6 separate regions of the Homo sapiens genome follow, and regions 2, 3, 4, 5 and 6 are each linked to region 1. The links are contacts of gene promoters, found by promoter capture Hi-C in blood cells and fetal thymus (Javierre and others, 2016). All regions are on one chromosome and are shown on one strand. Each heading gives the region's core, a stretch centred on a gene start or on the middle of the fragment in contact. The rest is flanking DNA. Distances are from core to core; before and after follow the strand shown.

Region 1 (2,700 bases), core at 105-2,604:
CTGATTCAGCTTTAAGAGAGAAAGAAAGACAAGCTTTGAGAGAGACAGACAACTATGGATAGACAATGTACGGGTAATACAGGGCTATCATCCACCTAGGCAGTTACTTCTTGGTATTCTGAGACCTCCTCAAAACTGTCTGAAAGAAGCTGACGCCTAAGACCGAAAACCCCACAAAGATCGTCTTTCCCAAAAGTAGCAGCATTTCTTCCTATCACTTTCAGATTATAATAAAGCAATCAATAAGACATTCATTCTCTTCATACACAGCCTAATAATCCTGGTGACCAACTATACCCAGCAGGGAGGACAAAGCTCTTAACACGAAAGAGTGAGGAGAATCTCTCCATTACCCTTTTACATATTCAGGGAAGAGAGAATATCGCAGTCGCTGGAAATGAAGGGCACAGCATCGTGTTGCTGTATGGCCACGGTTGGCCACAGAAAGGCAGAAAGTCATCAACTGTATGGAAACCAGACAACTCTGACGATTTCTATGCAAGGTGACTACACCTTACTCGTTCTCCAAGTATTAAAGATCTTTTCATCCTTATTGCTGTGTGAACTCCCGTGAGCGGTAAGGTTTTTCTATACTATCGAGGTCTCTTCCCCGATAGGCTGGAAAATCACACCCGGGAGCGTGTTGGGGCCGCGGGACGTACTATTAGGTGTCTCTCCTCCCGCTGCCTATTCCAAGTAGTAGGGGAGAGCGCTACCTCCATGTTATTCAGAGCGAAGTACGGCCGTGCCTCCTGGAGTCTCCGCTCCCAGCACGAGGGGCCGGCTGGGGGGCATCTCTGAGAGAGTGGGTTTAAGGGGACAAGGGGTATCTCCGGTCCTGCGATCAGAAAGGAGGGCGTGGAGGGTGGTGCCGCCGTGCCGAGAGGATCTGCAGTTCCCCTCCCCTCCCTTCCTCTCCTAGAGAGGCAGCCCGGCCCCAGTACCTTCTTGACTGTGCGCGGCGCCTCGGTGACGGTGCCGTCGGGGCTGACCAGGGCCTCGCCGCCGTCGCGGTGCCGCTGGTGCTGGTGATGTGGGTCGCTCCGCTTCATGGCCGACGCCTGAGGCACCTTCCCGGCGGCGGGGCTGAGAGCGGCGGCGGGCCCCGAGCCCGGGCCGGGGACCGGGGGCCGCTCCGCGGCGGGAGCTGGAGCCTCAGGGTCTCCACCGCCCGCCGGGGGGGCCATGGCGCCCACGGCGGCCGTGCTCAGTCCTAGTTGCGACTCCGCCTCGGAGGGGCTCAGGTCCTTCAGCTCCACCTCAGGCACCTTGGCGGCAGCCGCGGCTGACACAACCTGCACCGACATCACCGCCTCCGCTGCAACCACCGGCTCAGACTCCAGCTCCTGCTCTTGGTCGGCCCCGCCTCCCACCTCCCTTCCTCTTCCCTCCCCCATGTCCCCACTCCTCCCCTCCATCGCCTCCTCTCCCACCCCCTTTCTCCGCCCGCCAGTCCCGGCCCCTCCAGCCCCGCCCCGCCCCGTCCCGGTCTGGCCTCGCGCGAGGCGCCACGGAACCTGTAGTGCGTTTGCTCCCGGCCGCACGCGGCGAGAAGACCGTGGGACCTCAGGCCCCGACCTACACTGCGCGCCCCATGGGCGGGGCCCGCAGCGTCCCCTGGGAGTTGTAGTCCTTTCAGCCTTTCCTCCACTAAGTGAGATTCAGCCGAGGAGAGGGAGCGCTAGGGCCGGCAGCTAACAGAAAGGAGTGAGGATAGGTGACTCGACGGAGGGGATGAGGAAGAGAAAGTCTCCAGAGGAGTTGTGACTTCCGGGGAGGGAACGCCAAGAAGCCTTAGGGGAGGGGAAGTGGTAGAGGAATGGCTCGTTGTCCTGACAGCGTGAAGTTCCTCCGCGCGTGCCCGTCTGCGATCACGTGAGCGAGTATTTAAAGGAGAAGCGGCGGCTCCAGGCTGGAAGTGGCTTTATTTTTCTTTGTGATATTGAGAACTCAACACCCTTCCAAACTTCAGTGGCTTTGTTTTTAGAAGGGATAAAGTAGGACCTTGCTTGCTGTGGCGCTTTCTGTCACATTCTGGGTTTGGAAGCTAAGATCATTCCTCAAAGAAGTTAGGTATCACTAGATCAAAATTCAAGGCTGAGGAATTACACGTTGCCTTAAACGAGGCCAAATCTTTTCACCTATAATTCTAATAGGGCAATCATCTGAAATTCAGATACATATATCAGCATAGAGGGATATGAATAGTGAATATGAGTAGTTAATTTCCTAAGTGATGGGATTTAAGGTGATTTTTACTTTGTACTTTTCTGTATTATTTTTAAATTTTACATTTAGAGGATGTAAGCAAAAAGACATGCACCGCAGCGTCCTTTTTAATAACAAAAAACTGTCTAAAACTAATGTCCAACAAATAGAGCAATTGTTACAGCCTTTGAAAATCGTTTGCCAGCTGGGCATAGTGGTTGACGTCTGTAATCCCAGCACTTTGGGAGGCCAAGGCCGGCAGATCACTTGAGATCAGGACTTCAAGACCAGCCTGGCCAACATGGTGAAACCCCATCTCTACTAAAAATACAAAAATTAGCCAGGCGTGGTGGCGGGCACCTGAAATCCCAGCTACTTGGGAGGCTGAGGCAGGAGGATCGCTTGAACCTGGGAGGCAGAGGCTGCAGTGAGCCAAGATCATGCCACGGCACTCCAGCCTGGACAACGGAGTGAGATGCCGTCCCAGAAAAA
Region 2 (2,700 bases), core at 175-2,674, 770 kb after region 1:
ACCTAACAGGTAGAGGTTCAACACATGCTTCATGGCTGAAAGGACCCTACTCCTCTGCAGAGAAACAGAGCTGCCTTCTCCTTCTGAAAGGCCTCTGGACCCTGAGAAAAAAGAGGAAAGGATGAATCTATAGCCTTTTGGGGATATGCATGCATCCAGCCCTGACTCTTCTGTCCTCTCACAGGGCTGAAGGAGAGGCTTAGCCAGTGAGGGACACAGGGACCAGGGAGTTGCACAGCAACTCTCCAAGAATATTTTACATTGCAAACTTCATGGCTGCGGAGCCAGTGTTGCTTCTTGGACTAATTCAAGAACACTTCTTAAAACTTTTACTTTCTTAGGCCAGGCGCGGTGGCTCATACCTGTAATCCCAGCGCTCTGGGAGGCCGAGGCGGGTGGATCACCTGAGGTCAGGAATTCGAGACCAGCCTGACCAACATGGTGAAACCCTGTCTCTACTACAAATACAAAAATTAGCCGGGCATAGTGGCACATGCCTGTAATCCCAGCTACTCGGGAGGCTGAGGCAGAATTGCTTGAACCCGGGAGGCAGAGGTTGCAGTGAGCCAAGATCGCGCCATTGCACTCCAGCCTCGGCAACAAAAGCAAAACTCCGTCTCAAAAACAAACAAACAAACATTTACTTTATTGAAAATTTTGTTCCTGCAAGGCACAATACACAACCCCTGTGCTACAGTGCAGGCATCAGTCACCTTCCTGAAATAGGCCCAGTCCTTTTGCAGGGGGGTGGTGGGTAATGGGAAATATAAGAACATGCCCTGGAGAAAGGAACCTGCCTAGAAGTCTCTCCCACATCACAGATTGGAGTTAACTACAAACTTTTTGCAAGTCCAAATAACTCTATGAGGGTCAAATCTATCAAGTTCATTTATTTAACAAACATACCATGAATATCTGCAATGTGTTAGGTACCCTGGAAGATACTAGGGCCACATTGCAAACCTTATAGACAAAGGGTAGTTAACACGCAACACGCTAAGTGTTGGGACAGCAAGGAGATCGTGAAGGTGCTCTGGGAGGGCATGGCAGGGATGCCTAACTCAGCACCTGTGGGCGTGGGATGGGCCACGTGGATCCTAGTTAGGACCACCTTAGGACAAAACAGGGCTGACGGCTGAATGGGGACCCCAGATGGGGCGTGGGCGATCAGAGAGGATCCCGGCGGCGCACCCCCAGCCCTGGAACGCGAGGCTGCTAGCGCGGCGAGCACTCTAGCGATGGGGGTGGGGAGCCGGGGAAGCCCACAGGGCCGCTCACCTCCGGGGGAACAGCCGGGAGTGGATCGCCGGCTGTAGGAGCAGGTCGTGCAGGAGTCCGGAGGAAAGTCGGTTACTAAGCACCAGCGCAGAAGCTTCCCGCCACAAAACTCACCGGAGACAAAAGCGCCGTCAGCCGCAGAGCGCAGAGCAACGCCGCCCAGCCTCCGCCCCTTATAGCCGCGAGCACGCCCCAGGAGGGTACGCGCACGCGCACTGGAGGCCGCACGCACGCCCGGGACGCACACGACGTGGCGCACGTCCGCGGCCCCACCCCGCGGGCAACGGGGTTTGGGGATTGTCCCGGGTGCTCTCCCGCGGAGCTGTTTCCAAAAGTACACGTCGTGCGGTTTTGAGTCATTGTGTTCTGGAGTGAGACGAGGCGTGTGTATTAATCTCGACTGCCATCTCTGCTGTAGAAAACATTTGAAGGAGTCAGAGAGCACATATCCCTTCTCCCCAGTAGGTGAAAAACACCGATGGCCTTCGTGTCCGTGAAGCCCCGCCGTGAAGGGTGGGTTCTTCCCCAGAGATTTCGGGTGCACTAAATTGTCAGAGGGCACCAGACCCCTACCCCACTCGTTATTTTCTTCATTTCAAGGACTGAAGAGCTGGTTTTGTTTCACTTCATAGCTGTACCAAGATTCCAAATCCCGAGTTTCAGTTGCCATCGGTATCTCTGGAATGGTGAGGCCCTTGTGCAACATATTAAGCTCTGCAAGCTCTGCTTTCTATGAGAGTTTGTCGTGTCGCTTCAGAAAACGTGAAATACTCCTGGCCCTGGTGTGGGATCCTAACTGCATATGGGCAAGTCACTTGGTATTTAAATGGGCCTCGGTTTTCTCATCTGTAATGAAGACATTGGCCACTAGATGATTTTTCTTCTTCTTCTTCTTTTTTTTTTTTAAATAGAGACAGTCTCGCTATGTTGCCCAGGCTGGTCTCGAACTCCTGATCTCAAGCCATCCTCCCACCTCTGCCTCCCAAAGTGCTGGGGCTACAGGCGTGAGCCACCGCGCCCGGCCGCTAGATGATTTTTAAGGGTGCTTTCGGCTTGAACTAAAGAGCCAGGAGGTCACAGACCAGCCTTATGTCCAGATTTGGGGGGCTAGGCTGCCTTACTAATCACCCCCGAACCCACCCAGCCAAGACTGTGCGGTCTGTCTTGAGAGCACGCAACGGGGGATCTCAGAAAGTAGAGTCCCGGAGAGACACTGGGAATGGGGAGGACCCCCGGGAAGGGGTGTACACGCCGTGGAAGGGAAGGCCGCTGGTGGCTTTAGAACTGGCGGTTCCGTGTACCCGGGTCAAGTGCCCGTGCCGGATGGGAAAGAACCCTGTGACTTTCCACATCTCAGCGAGCTCGGCGGGCTCTGCTTAAGAAGGGCTCTAAGACGGGAAGGGAGGAGCCATCCCCACTGCG
Region 3 (2,700 bases), core at 6-2,505, 790 kb before region 1:
GATTTTCATTATGCCACCAGGAAATTTCCTGGTGTGTTATAGTGAATGGTCAACTGATAATTTTCTCCTTGCTTTGATAATAACAGAATAAAACAATGTAATGGGGAGGAAGGCACTTCAGAAGAGACCCCTCTCCATGTGCCATTGAATGCATGAGTCCCCCAGTTGGGCTTCCCCAAGACTCGTTGCTTTTGGGGGATCATCAGTTTTTGTGGTAGAGAAGGTGGACCCTGAACTGCCCACTGATAAAGTAACCATGACCTAGCAAAGGCTAGAAAGTGATTATTCTCTGATATGCCATGTTTTTCGTCACTGAGATTGTTTTGTTTTATACTTTTGTACTGAAGTATTTTAAAGAAAATAACACATAATATTTTACTCATAGTTTAATCTCTAAAAAATAGAACCTAGGCCAGGTGCGGTAGCTCACACCTGTAATCCCAGCACTTTGGGAGGCCAAGGTGGGCAGATCACTTGAGGTCAAGAGTTCAAGACCAACCTGGCCAACATGGTGAAACCCTATCTCTACTAAAAATACAAAAATTAGCCAGGCGTGGTGACGGGTGCCTGGTGTCCCAGCTACTGGAGAGGCTGAGACAGGAGAATCGTTTGAACCCAGGAGGTGGAAGCTACAGCGAGCCGAGATCGTCTGCTGCACTCCAGCCTGGGTGACAGAGCAAGACTCCGTCTCATTATATATATATATATATATTTATGTATATTTTTATATATATATAACTTTTCTCCAACATATTACACCCAACAAAAATTAATAATCTGACCGGGCGTGGTGGCTCACGCCTGTAATCCCAGCACTTTGGGAGGCCAAGGTGGGCGGATCACCTGAGGTCAGGAGTTCAAGATCAGCCTGGCCAACATGGTGAAACCCTGTCTCTATTAAAAATACAAAAATCAGCCGTGTGTGGCGGCGTGCACCTGTAATCCCAGCTGCTCTGGAGGCAGAGGCAGGAGAATAGCTGGAACCCCGGGGGAGGAGGCTACAGTGAGATTGCCGCCATTACACTCCAGCCTTGGCGTCAGAGCAAGAGTCCAGGTCAAAAAATAAAAATAAAATGGCCAGGCACAGTGGCTCACGCCTGTAATCCCAGCACTTTGGGAGGCCGAGGCTGGCGGATCACGAGGTGAGGAGATCGAGACCATCCTGGCTAACACGGTGAAACACCATCTCTATTAAAAATATAAAAAACTAGCTGGGCGTGGTGGCGGGCGCCTGTAGTTCCAGCTACTGAGCGCAGGAGAATGGCGCGAACCCGGGAGGCGGAGCTTACAGTGAGCCGAGATCGACCACTGCACTCCAGCCTGGGCAACAGAGCGAGACTCCATCTCAAAAATAATAATAATAATAAATTAAAAAATAAAATAAAATCATAAATGGAAGCAGAGGCCAGGCATGATGCCTCATGCCTACAATCCCAACACTTTGGGAGGCTGAGGCAGGAGGATCACTCAAGTCTAGGAGTTCAAGACCAGCCTGGGCAACAAGGAGAAATCCTGTCTTAAACGAAAAATAGAAAAAAATTAGTGAGGTATGGTGGCTTTTGCCTGTAGTCTCAGCTACTCAGGAGGCTGAGCTGGGAGGATCTCTTGAGCCCAGAAAGGCAGACTGCAGTGAGCTAAGATCACCGTTGCACTCACTCCAGCCTGGGCAACAGAGTGAGACCCTGTCTCAAAAATAAATATGTAAATAAAAATATAAATTGAAGCAGATTGAGATAGACTTTGTGTAATTCAAGAAACATTCTCTTTCATGTGTGAGGCACTGTGCTAGCCCCTGTAGATGAATGACTACCTACTTTCTACCTCTAAGAAGTATATAGGCCAGGCCAGAAGACACACTGGTATATAAATGTTGCGGGACAAACTGCTAAATGCTCTAGTCTAGGAGAGGTATAAAAAAGGAAGAAGTGAATGGTCATGTGTCGTTGGGAAGAACTTTGAGGAAGGTGTAGATTTGAGCTGGTCCTTGGAGATGAGTGGGAGATGCAGGCTCCATGAGAACAGGGACTTTGTCCTGGTTTTAATCTCAACATTCAAAACAGTGCCTGACACGTGATAGACCCTCGGTTAAAAATATGCACATCCGAGACTGAGGGAGCATTGTAAGCAAATGAGCAGCATGTAGGATATGTTCCAGGAAGAGCAGGTATTCTGCTGTGGCTAGAACTCTGTGTTGAGTAGAAAAGAAAGGAAAAGAAAATGGAAGTTGGGCCAGATTAGAGTCTTGTATGTTATACTAAGGAGTTTGGACTTGATTCTCTAGGGAAAGAGAAACTCTTAAAGAATATTTTGGGCTGGGCATGGTGGCTCATGCCTGTAATCCCAGCACTTTGGGAGGCCGAGGCGGGCAGATCAGTTGAGGTCAGGAGTTTGAGACCAGTCTGGCCAACATGGTGAAAGCCCGTCTCTACTAAAAATACAAAAGTTAGCTGGGTGTGGTGGCACATGACTATAATCCCAGCTACTCGGGAGGCTGAGGCAGGAGAATCACTTGAACCTGGGAGATGAAGGTTGTAGTGAGCTGAGATCACGCCACTGCACTCTAGCTTGGGTGACAGAGCAAGACTCTGTCTCAGAAAAAAAAAAAAAAAAAAAAAAAAGACATTTGTGCTTAGGAAGATAATTCCAGTGTCTCTGAATAGCCTGGCTTAGGGAAGACAAGAAGGATTTAAGGGAAGTGTG
Region 4 (2,700 bases), core at 35-2,534, 720 kb before region 1:
ATTCTGAGATTCACCCATGTTATTTAGTTCATTTTTTTTTTATTGCTGAGTAGTATTCTATTATGTGGATATACCACAATTTGTTTATGCATTCACCTCTTAATGCTTGGTGGCATTTGGGTTATTTCCAGTTTTGGGCTATTACCAGTAAAGTTGCTATGAACATTGTATGGATATACGCTTTTTTTTCTCTTGGCTAAGCTAGATCATGTGGTAGGGTTTGCGCATGCGCGTGCGTGCGTGCGTGTGTGTGTGTGTGTGTGTGTGTGTGTGTGTGTGTTTTGAGCGCATGCGCACGTGTGTGTTTTGAGACAGGATTTCACTCTGTTGCCCAGATGAGAGTTCATGGTGTGATCTCAGCTCACTGCAGTCGTGGCCACTTGCCTGGCTAATTTTATTTTTTTTGTAGAGATGAGGTCTCACTGTTGGCCAGGCTGGTCTCAAATTCCTGGGCTTAAGTGATCCTCTGGCCTTGGCCTCCCAAAGTGCTGGGATTACAGATGTAAGCCGCTGTGCCCAGCCATGTTTAACACGTAGTTTGAATTTAATGTTTACTGATGATGGTCCATATTTCACACCCAAATAAAATTGTGACAACGGTTGTTTCACTTGTGTGTTTTGTTTTGTTTTGTTTTGTTTTGAGACGGAGTCTTCGCTCTGTCGCCCAGGCTGAGTGTAGTGGCGCGATCTCGGCTCACTGCCAGCTCCGCCTCCTGGGTTCACGCCATTCTCCTGCCTCGGCCTCCTGAGTAGCTGGAACTACAGGCACCCGCCACCAAGCCTGGCTAATTTTTTGTATTTTTAGTAGCGACAGGGTTTCACCATGTTAGCGAGGATGGTCTTGATCTCCTGACCTCATGATCTGCCCACCGTGGCCTCCCAAAGTGCTGGGATTACAGGCATGAGCCACAGCGCCTGGCCTCACTTGTGTATTTTAAAGGAATCATGTTAAATTACATGCTCTTAAAGCACTGATTTATTTTTTATTATTAACCTTATTTTATAGTATATGAATTTTGTTAATTTTTTTATCAATAAAACAAATTTTACCACAATGATTGTGATACCTTTCACTTGAATAATGATTTAAACACTTTATCTTCCTTTTTTAAAGACAGAATCAGTCTCGCTCTGTCGCCCAGACTGGCTCTCTGCAACCTCTGCCTCCTGAGTTCAAGCGATTCTCCTGCCTCACCCTCCCGAGTAGCTGGGATTACAGGGGCCTGCCACCACACCCAGCTAATTTTTGTATTTTTAGTTAGAGACAGGGTTTTGCCATGTTGGCCAGGTTGGTCTTGAACTCTTGACCTCAGGTGATCCGCCTGCCTCTGCCTCTCAAGTACTGGGATTACAGGTGTGAGCCACGATGCCTGGCCAATCTGGTTTTTTGTTTGTTTTTGTGTTTGTGTTTTTAGACGGAGTCTGGCTGTGTTGCCCAGGCTAGAGTGCAGTGGTGCGATTTCAACTCACTGCAACCTCTGCCTCCCGGCGCTTGGCCTAAAGCATTGATTTCTAGCTGAATTTGGTTAAAGCTGATTTGGTAGCTACTCTTCTCTCCCCACCCCCATTTGAAATTAGTAAATTAAATTTTTATTGTGAAATATTTTTGTTAGCCTGAGCTACATGGCAAAAGCCTATTTCTACCAAAACAGATAAAAAATTAGCCAGGTATGGTGGCATGCACTTGTAATCCCAGCTACTCTGGGGGCTGAGGCAGAAGGATCACTTAAGCCCAGGAGGCAGAGGTTGTGGTGAGTTAAGATCATGCCACTGCAGTCCAGCCTGGGTGACAGGGCAAGGCCCTGTCTAAAAAAAATGTTTTGTGGCCCTTTGAAATTACACTTTAGGAATCTGGCCGGCCATAGTGGCTCATGCCTGTAATCCTGGCACTTTGGGAGGCTGAGGTGGGCAGATCACCTGAGGTCAAGAGTTCAAGACCAACCTGGCCAACATGGCGAAACCCCATCTCTACTAAAAATGCAAAAACTAGCTGGGTGTGGTGGTGCACACCTGTAATCCCAGCTACTCAGGAGGCTGAGGCAGGAGAATTGCTTGAACCTGGGAGTCGGAGGTTGTGGTGAGCCGAGATTATGCCACTGCACTCCAACCCCGGGGAACAGAGCAAGACTCCATCTCAAAAAACAAAAAAAAAAACACATTACACTTTAGGATCATAGTCACAAACAGCAATTTTATTTTTATATTTGCTAGTAAGGCTCTATATCTTTGTGAATAGGTAAGCACACTTTTTGTTGATGGTATTATTTTCTTTGTAAAGTATTGATAAGATTTTTTTTAACATTTCTTTAGCATTTCTAGTGAAGTTTACAGCAGTTGATAAATATTTCTGGAGCACTCTGTTGAAGTCTGAATAATATCTTCAATTTTCACATGGAATAAACTCAGGTGAAAGGAACTAACAGCAGCTCAGTGACAGAATGGGAAACAGACTATAAGAGTTAGGATATCCTTTGATATCATGCTTTCCTGGAATTTTTGTGTGTGTGAGAGACGGAGTTTCACTCTTGTTGCCCAGGCTGGAGTGCAATGGCATGATCTCGGCTCACTGCGACCTCTGCCTCCCAGGTTCAAGCGATTCTCCTGCCTCAGCCTCCTGAGTAGCTGGGATTACAGGCATGTGCCACCACGCCTGGCTAATTTTTTATTTTTAGTAGAGAGGTGATCCCCCTGCCTTGGCCT
Region 5 (2,700 bases), core at 26-2,525, 580 kb before region 1:
GCTGGGATTACAGGCACTGCCACCATGCCTGGCTAATTTTTGTATTTTTAGTAGAGACAGAGTTTCATCATGTTGGCCAGGCTGGTCTTGAACTCCTGACCTCAGGTGATCTGCCTGCTTGGCCTCCCAAAGCACTGGGATTATAGGCATGAGCCACCACACCCGGCTGAAAGTACACTTTTTTTGTTTTTGTTTTTGTTTTTGTTTGAGACGGAGTGTCGCTCTGTCGCCCAGGCTGGAGTGCAGTGGCGTGATCTCAGCTCACTGCAAGCTCCACCTCCCGGGTTCACGCCATTCTCCTGCCTCAGCCTCCTGAGTAGCTGGGACTACAGCCGCCCACCACCACGCCCACCTAATTTTTTGTATTTTTAGTAGAGATGGGGTTTCACCGTTTTAGCTAGGATGGTCTCGATCTCCTGACCTCATGATCCGCCCGCCTCGGCCTCCCAAAGTGCTGGGATTACAGGTATGGCCGCTGCGCCTGGTGGAAGTACAGTTTTTAACCCCTGCTTCACCCTTAACAGATACACAGAAATGACAAGGAAAGGCCCGGAAACTTATAGGCCTGATTAAGCTTTTGGGAGCCATCCCCAAAGCAGATTTTCAAATTATGCGTTTGTTTGCATCTCTGAAGGTTTTTGTACCCAGAGGCAATGAACCTTCAGAATGCCATCGATGGCAAGTGGGGTTCAGAAGGGTGGGGGGGAGCCAGGCCAGGTAAAAGTGGATGTGAAAAACATTTTGTTTTATTTTATTTTTAAAATTTATTTTGAGACAGTGTCTCACTCTGTCACCCAGGCTGGAGTGCAGTGGCATGATCATGGCTCACTGCAGCCTCAACCTCCTGGGCCCAAGTGATCCTCTTACCTCAGCCTCCCAGGTAGCTGGGACTACAGGCATGCACCACCGCAGCTGGCTAGTTTGTTTTAATAGAGACAGGGTCTCTCTATGTTGTCCAGGCTGCTCTTGAACGTCTGGGCTCAAGGATCCTCCTGCCTTGGCTTCCCAAAGTGCTGGGATTACAGGCATGAGGTACCTTGCCTGACTGAAAATATGTTGATGTTATCTCCAGCTGCCGTATGGAAAATATATTGGCTGGGTGCGGTGGCTCATGCCTGTAATCCCAGCACTTTGGGAGGCTGAGACAGGTGGATCACCTGAGGTCAGGAGTTTGAGACCAGCCTGGCCAACATGGCAAAACCCCATCTGTACTAAAAATACAAAAATTAGCCATGTGTGGTGGCATAGGCCTATAATCCCAGCTACTTGGGAGGCTGAGGCAGGAGAATCGCTTGAACCCAGGAGGTGGAGGTTGCAGTGAGCTGAGATAGTGCCAGTGTACTCCAGCCTGGGTGACAGAGCGAGACTCCATCAAAGAAAAGAAAAGAATAGAGAAGAGGGAAGGGGAGGGGAGAGGAGAGGAGAGGAGAGGAGAGAGGAGATAGAGAGCATGCATGGAAGCCAGAGGGCAGTGTCACAATCCAGGCTGGAGAGGTGGTGGCCTGGGCAAGGATGGGCCAATGGAGGGGGCGGGCTTGCTTTGGAGTGGATGTGCTGGGGAGAGAAAGAAGAATTGATGATGAAGCCTGGACTTCTATTTGAGCAACCAGGTAGTGAGAATTCTACCTACTGAGATGAGAAAGGAGGCACAGGAGGAATTTGGGGAGGGAGGGATATGGTGAGTTTAAGAGGATCACTCAGCAGGTGAAAATGTCAGGCAGGAAATTATAGAAATGGGTGCTGTGTTCAGGGGCAAGGCCTTGTGGATATATCCAGTTTGGGAGTCATTCGCACACAGATAATATTGAAAGCCTGTGGAATTGAATGAGGTTACCTAGGGACCTAGGGAGAGAGATGGATAGAGATTCACTTTTCCTACCTCCTTGCTTTCAAACGTGCTTTCTCTCACATCAAATATTTATGTTCATTAGCTCTACTTCCAAACTCTTCATTTTGTTTCAATTATTGAAGCTTTTATTTTGCTGGGCACCATATTGTTTAAAATACTGCTATGGTTTGAATGTGTCCCTCAATGATCATGTCTCAGAAACTTAATCCCCAGTGCAGCAATGTTGAGACTGGGACCTTTTGCAAGGGCTCTGACTTTGTGTGTGGATTAATGTCCTTATCAGCGGAGCGGGTTTATTATAAAAGCAAGTTTGGTACTCTCTTGCTTTCTCTCTCTCTCTCTCTTTCTCTCTCATGCTTTTTTGCCCTTCCACCTCTTGTTATGGGATGACAGACACAGCCAGAGGCCCAGATGCAGGCCTCTCAGCCTTGGATTTTCCAGCCTCCAGAAATGTAAGAAATGAATCTCTGTTCCTAGCTGGACGTAGTGGTTCACGCCTGTAATCCCAGCACTTTGGGAGGCCAAGGCATGTGGATCACCTGAGGTCAGGAGTTCAAGACCAGCCTGGCCAACATGGTGAAACCCTGTCTCTGCTAAAAATACAAAAAATTAGCCGGGTGTGGTGGCGGGCACCTGTGATCCCAGCTACTTGGGAGGCTGAGGCAGGAGAATTGTTTGAACTGGGGAAGCAGAGGTTGCAATGAGCTGAGATTGTGCCACGGCACTCCAGCCTAGGCAACAGAGTAAGACTCTGTCTCAAAAAAAAAGAATCTCTGTTCTTTATAAGTTACCTGGTCTCAGGTATTCTCTTACAAAATAGACTAAGACAAATACTGTTGCTTTCTCATACA
Region 6 (2,859 bases), core at 263-2,762, 740 kb before region 1:
GGATCGCTTGAGCTCAGGAATCCAAGGCCAGCCTGGGCAAAATAGTGAGAACCTGTCTCTAAAAAATAAATAAATGGCCGGGCGCGGTGGCTCACGCCTGTAATCCTAGCACTTTGGGAGGCCAAGGTGGGTGGATCACGAGGTCAGAAGTTCAATACCAGCCTGGCCAACATGGTGAAACCCCACCTCTACTAAAAACTACAAAAATTAGCCAGGTGTGGTGGCACGCGCCTATAGTCCCAGCTACTTGGGAGGCTGAGGCAGAAGAATCGCTTGAACCCGGGAGGCGGAGGTTGCAGTGAGCCGCAATCATGTCACTGCACTCCAGCCTGGGTGACAGGGCGAGACTCTGTCTCAAAAAATAATAATAAATAAATAAATAAATAAATAAATAGGCTGGTCGCAGTGGCTCATGCCTGTAATCCCAGCACTTTGGGAGGCCGAGGCGGATGGATCACCTGAGGTCAGGAGTTCATAGACCAGCCTGGCCAACATGGCAAAACCCCGTCTCTACTGAAAATACAAAAATTAGCCAGGCATGGTGGCAGGTGCCTGTAATCCCAGCTATTTGGAAGGGTGAGACATGAGAATCACTTGAACCTGGGAGAGGGAGGTTGCAGTGAGTGGAGATTGTGCCATTGCACTCCACCCTGGTTGACAGAGTGAGACTCTGTCTCAAAAATCAATCAATAAATAAGCTGGGTACAGCGGCTCATGTCTATAATTCCAGCACTTTGGGAGTCTGAGGTAGGAGGGTAACCTGAGCCCAGGAGTTCAAGACCAGCCTGGGCAGCATAGCGAGACCCTATGTCTACCAAAAAAAAAAAAAAGTCAGCCAGGTATGGTGGCACACAGCTGTAGTCCCAGCTACTTGGGGGCCTGAGGTGGGAGGATCACTTGAGCCTGGGAGTTTGAGGCTGTGTGAGGCATAATAGCACCAAGACACTCTAGCCTGGACGACAGAGCAAGGCCCTATCTCTAAATAATTAAATACTAAGGTGCTCAGGGAAGGCTCTACTGAGAAGGTGACATTTCAGCAAAGACTCAAAGGACATTAGGGAGCAGGCCATATGCTTATCTAGGGGAAGAATATTTTAGGCTGAGAAAGTAGCAAAGTGCAAAGGACCCCAGGCCGGGGCATGCTTGGTGTATATGAGGAACAGCAAGAAACCCAATGTGGGCTGGTCTGAGTGCAGTGTTTACAACTCTTGATTACAGATTTCTTTGTTCCTTCTCCATCCCCACTGCTTCACTTGACTAGTCTTAAAATATATATCTACATGTGAAAAAAGAAAAAATGAAAAAGACCAGTGTGGGTAGAAAGGAGTGAGTGACAGAATCGGATAGGGCAGCTCCTGTAGGGCTTTGAATGCCTGTGATGGCTTTGACTTTTACATGATGTCACGATGTGAACTGGGAAGCTCTTGGAGGGTTTTGAACAGTAGGGAGACAAGATTTGCTTTATAGTTAGGCTCACTGGCTTCTGAGTTGAATACAGGGTTTGAAGAAGTGAGGCCAACTGGGAAGTGATTATAGCAATCTATGTAAGAGATGATGGCTTGGTAGAGAAGGCAAGGAAAAGATTCTGGATATATTTTGACGGTAGGGCCAACAGGATTTCCTGATAATTGGATGAAGGGGCTAAAGAACAAGAAGGGTCGGGGACCGTAATTCAAGGCCCTTGGCCTGAGCAGCTAGAAGAATGTATTAGGTTGAACCAAATGAAATCACCAATATTTGATAGTTCTTAACCTTAAAAGGCAATTTCATATATTTCAACTTAATAGTTGTCATTGACTGAGATGGGGAAAAGTATGTGAGGAAGAGGTGAGGAGGTGGTATCAGAAATTTATTTTTGGACATGAGATGTCGCACAGGCAGCTATGTATATGCCTCTGAGTTCAGGGGTGTCTTAGTCTTTTTTCTGTTGCTATAACAGAATAACACAGAGCCCTCACAACCTAATCACCTCTTAAAAAAGAAAAGACAGCTGGGTGCAGTGGCTCACGCCTGTAATCCCAGCACTCTGGGAGGCCCAGGCAAGTGGATCACCTGAGGTCAAGAGTTTGAGACCAGCCTGACCAACATGGAGAAACCCAGTCTCTACTAAAAATACAAAATTAGCTGGGCGTGGTGGCACATGCCTGGAATCCCAGCTATTTGGGAGGCTGAGGCAGGAGAATCGCTTGAACCCAGGAGGCAGAGGTTTCTGTGAGCCGAGATCACGCCACTGCATTCCAGCCTGGGCAATAAGAGCAAAACTCCATCTCAAAAAATAAATGAATAGTCGCCGGGTGCGGTGGCTCATGCCTATAATCCCAGCCCTTTGGGAGGCTGAGGCGGGTGGATCACCTGAGGTTGGGAGTTCGAGACTAGCCTGACCAACATGGAAAAACCCCATCTCTACTAAAAATACAAAAGTAGCCGGGTGTGGTGGCACATTCCTGTGATCCCAGCTACTTGGGAGGCTGAGGCAGGAGAATCGCTTGAACCCAGGAGGCGGAGGTTGTGGTGAGCCGAGATCGCGCCATTGCACTCCAGCCTGGGCAACAAAAGCAAAACTCTGTCTCAAAAATAAATATATTAATTAATTAATTAATTAATTAAAAATAAAAGAGAAGCTAGGTGTGGTGGCTCACGCCTGCAATCCCAGCACTTTGGGAGGCCGAGGTGGGTGCATCACCTGAGGTCAGGAGTTTCAGACCAGCCTGGCCAACATGGTGAAACCTTGTTTCTACCAAAAATACGCAAAAAAATTAGCTGGGTATGGTGGCGGGTGTCTGTAATCCCAGCTACTTGAGAGGCTGAGGCAGGAGAATCGCTTTAACCTGGGAGGCAGAGGTTGCAGTGAGCCAAGAT

What was found. Contacts are between HindIII fragments. The CHiCAGO score rates a contact against its expected background, and 5 or more counts as called.
Region 2: the fragment with the promoter of HILPDA here is called in contact with the fragment with the promoter of AHCYL2 in region 1 in 2 of 17 cell types (total B cells and fetal thymus); the score reaches 7.7 in total B cells.
Region 3: a fragment that was not itself captured here is called in contact with the fragment with the promoter of AHCYL2 in region 1 in 1 of 17 cell types (neutrophils); the score reaches 12.9 in neutrophils.
Region 4: a fragment that was not itself captured here is called in contact with the fragment with the promoter of AHCYL2 in region 1 in 1 of 17 cell types (neutrophils); the score reaches 6.3 in neutrophils.
Region 5: a contact is called between a fragment that was not itself captured here and the fragment with the promoter of AHCYL2 in region 1, in 1 of 17 cell types (neutrophils). The highest score is 5.3, in neutrophils.
Region 6: a fragment that was not itself captured here is called in contact with the fragment with the promoter of AHCYL2 in region 1 in 1 of 17 cell types (neutrophils); the score reaches 9.0 in neutrophils.

The regions. Positions count from the first base shown.
Region 1 is chr7:129,223,684-129,226,383 of GRCh38, reverse strand. AHCYL2 (adenosylhomocysteinase like 2) reads right to left here and starts at 1,354. Exons shown (of 17, transcript NM_015328.4): 1 at 945-1,354. The coding sequence starts at 1,307. RefSeq lists silencers at 1,021-1,270, 1,391-1,460 and an enhancer at 1,741-1,850. The HindIII fragment of the contact is 12,976 bases long and covers 36-2,700 here.
Region 2 is chr7:128,454,602-128,457,301 of GRCh38, reverse strand. It overlaps HILPDA (hypoxia inducible lipid droplet associated), which reads right to left and starts at 1,424. Exons shown (of 2, transcript NM_013332.4): 1 at 1,279-1,424; 2 at 1-101. The coding sequence starts at 33. It also overlaps the pseudogene EFCAB3P1. RefSeq lists a silencer at 1,372-1,511 and enhancers at 1,612-1,781, 2,690-2,700. The HindIII fragment of the contact is 2,271 bases long and covers 1,375-2,700 here.
Region 3 is chr7:130,015,439-130,018,138 of GRCh38, reverse strand. The region is part of intron 3 of UBE2H-DT (UBE2H divergent transcript); the gene reads right to left. Among named protein-coding and RNA genes, the nearest start is that of ZC3HC1, 35 kb to the left of the region's middle. The HindIII fragment of the contact is 3,723 bases long and covers 1-2,700 here.
Region 4 is chr7:129,942,296-129,944,995 of GRCh38, reverse strand. The region is part of intron 1 of UBE2H (ubiquitin conjugating enzyme E2 H); the gene reads left to right. Among named protein-coding and RNA genes, the nearest start is that of UBE2H, 9.3 kb to the left of the region's middle. The HindIII fragment of the contact is 2,953 bases long and covers 1-2,700 here.
Region 5 is chr7:129,806,838-129,809,537 of GRCh38, reverse strand. No RefSeq gene overlaps it. Among named protein-coding and RNA genes, the nearest start is that of MIR183, 33 kb to the right of the region's middle. The HindIII fragment of the contact is 1,397 bases long and covers 577-1,973 here.
Region 6 is chr7:129,960,397-129,963,255 of GRCh38, reverse strand. The region is part of intron 1 of UBE2H-DT (UBE2H divergent transcript); the gene reads right to left. Among named protein-coding and RNA genes, the nearest start is that of UBE2H-DT, 8.8 kb to the right of the region's middle. The HindIII fragment of the contact is 3,673 bases long and covers 1-2,859 here.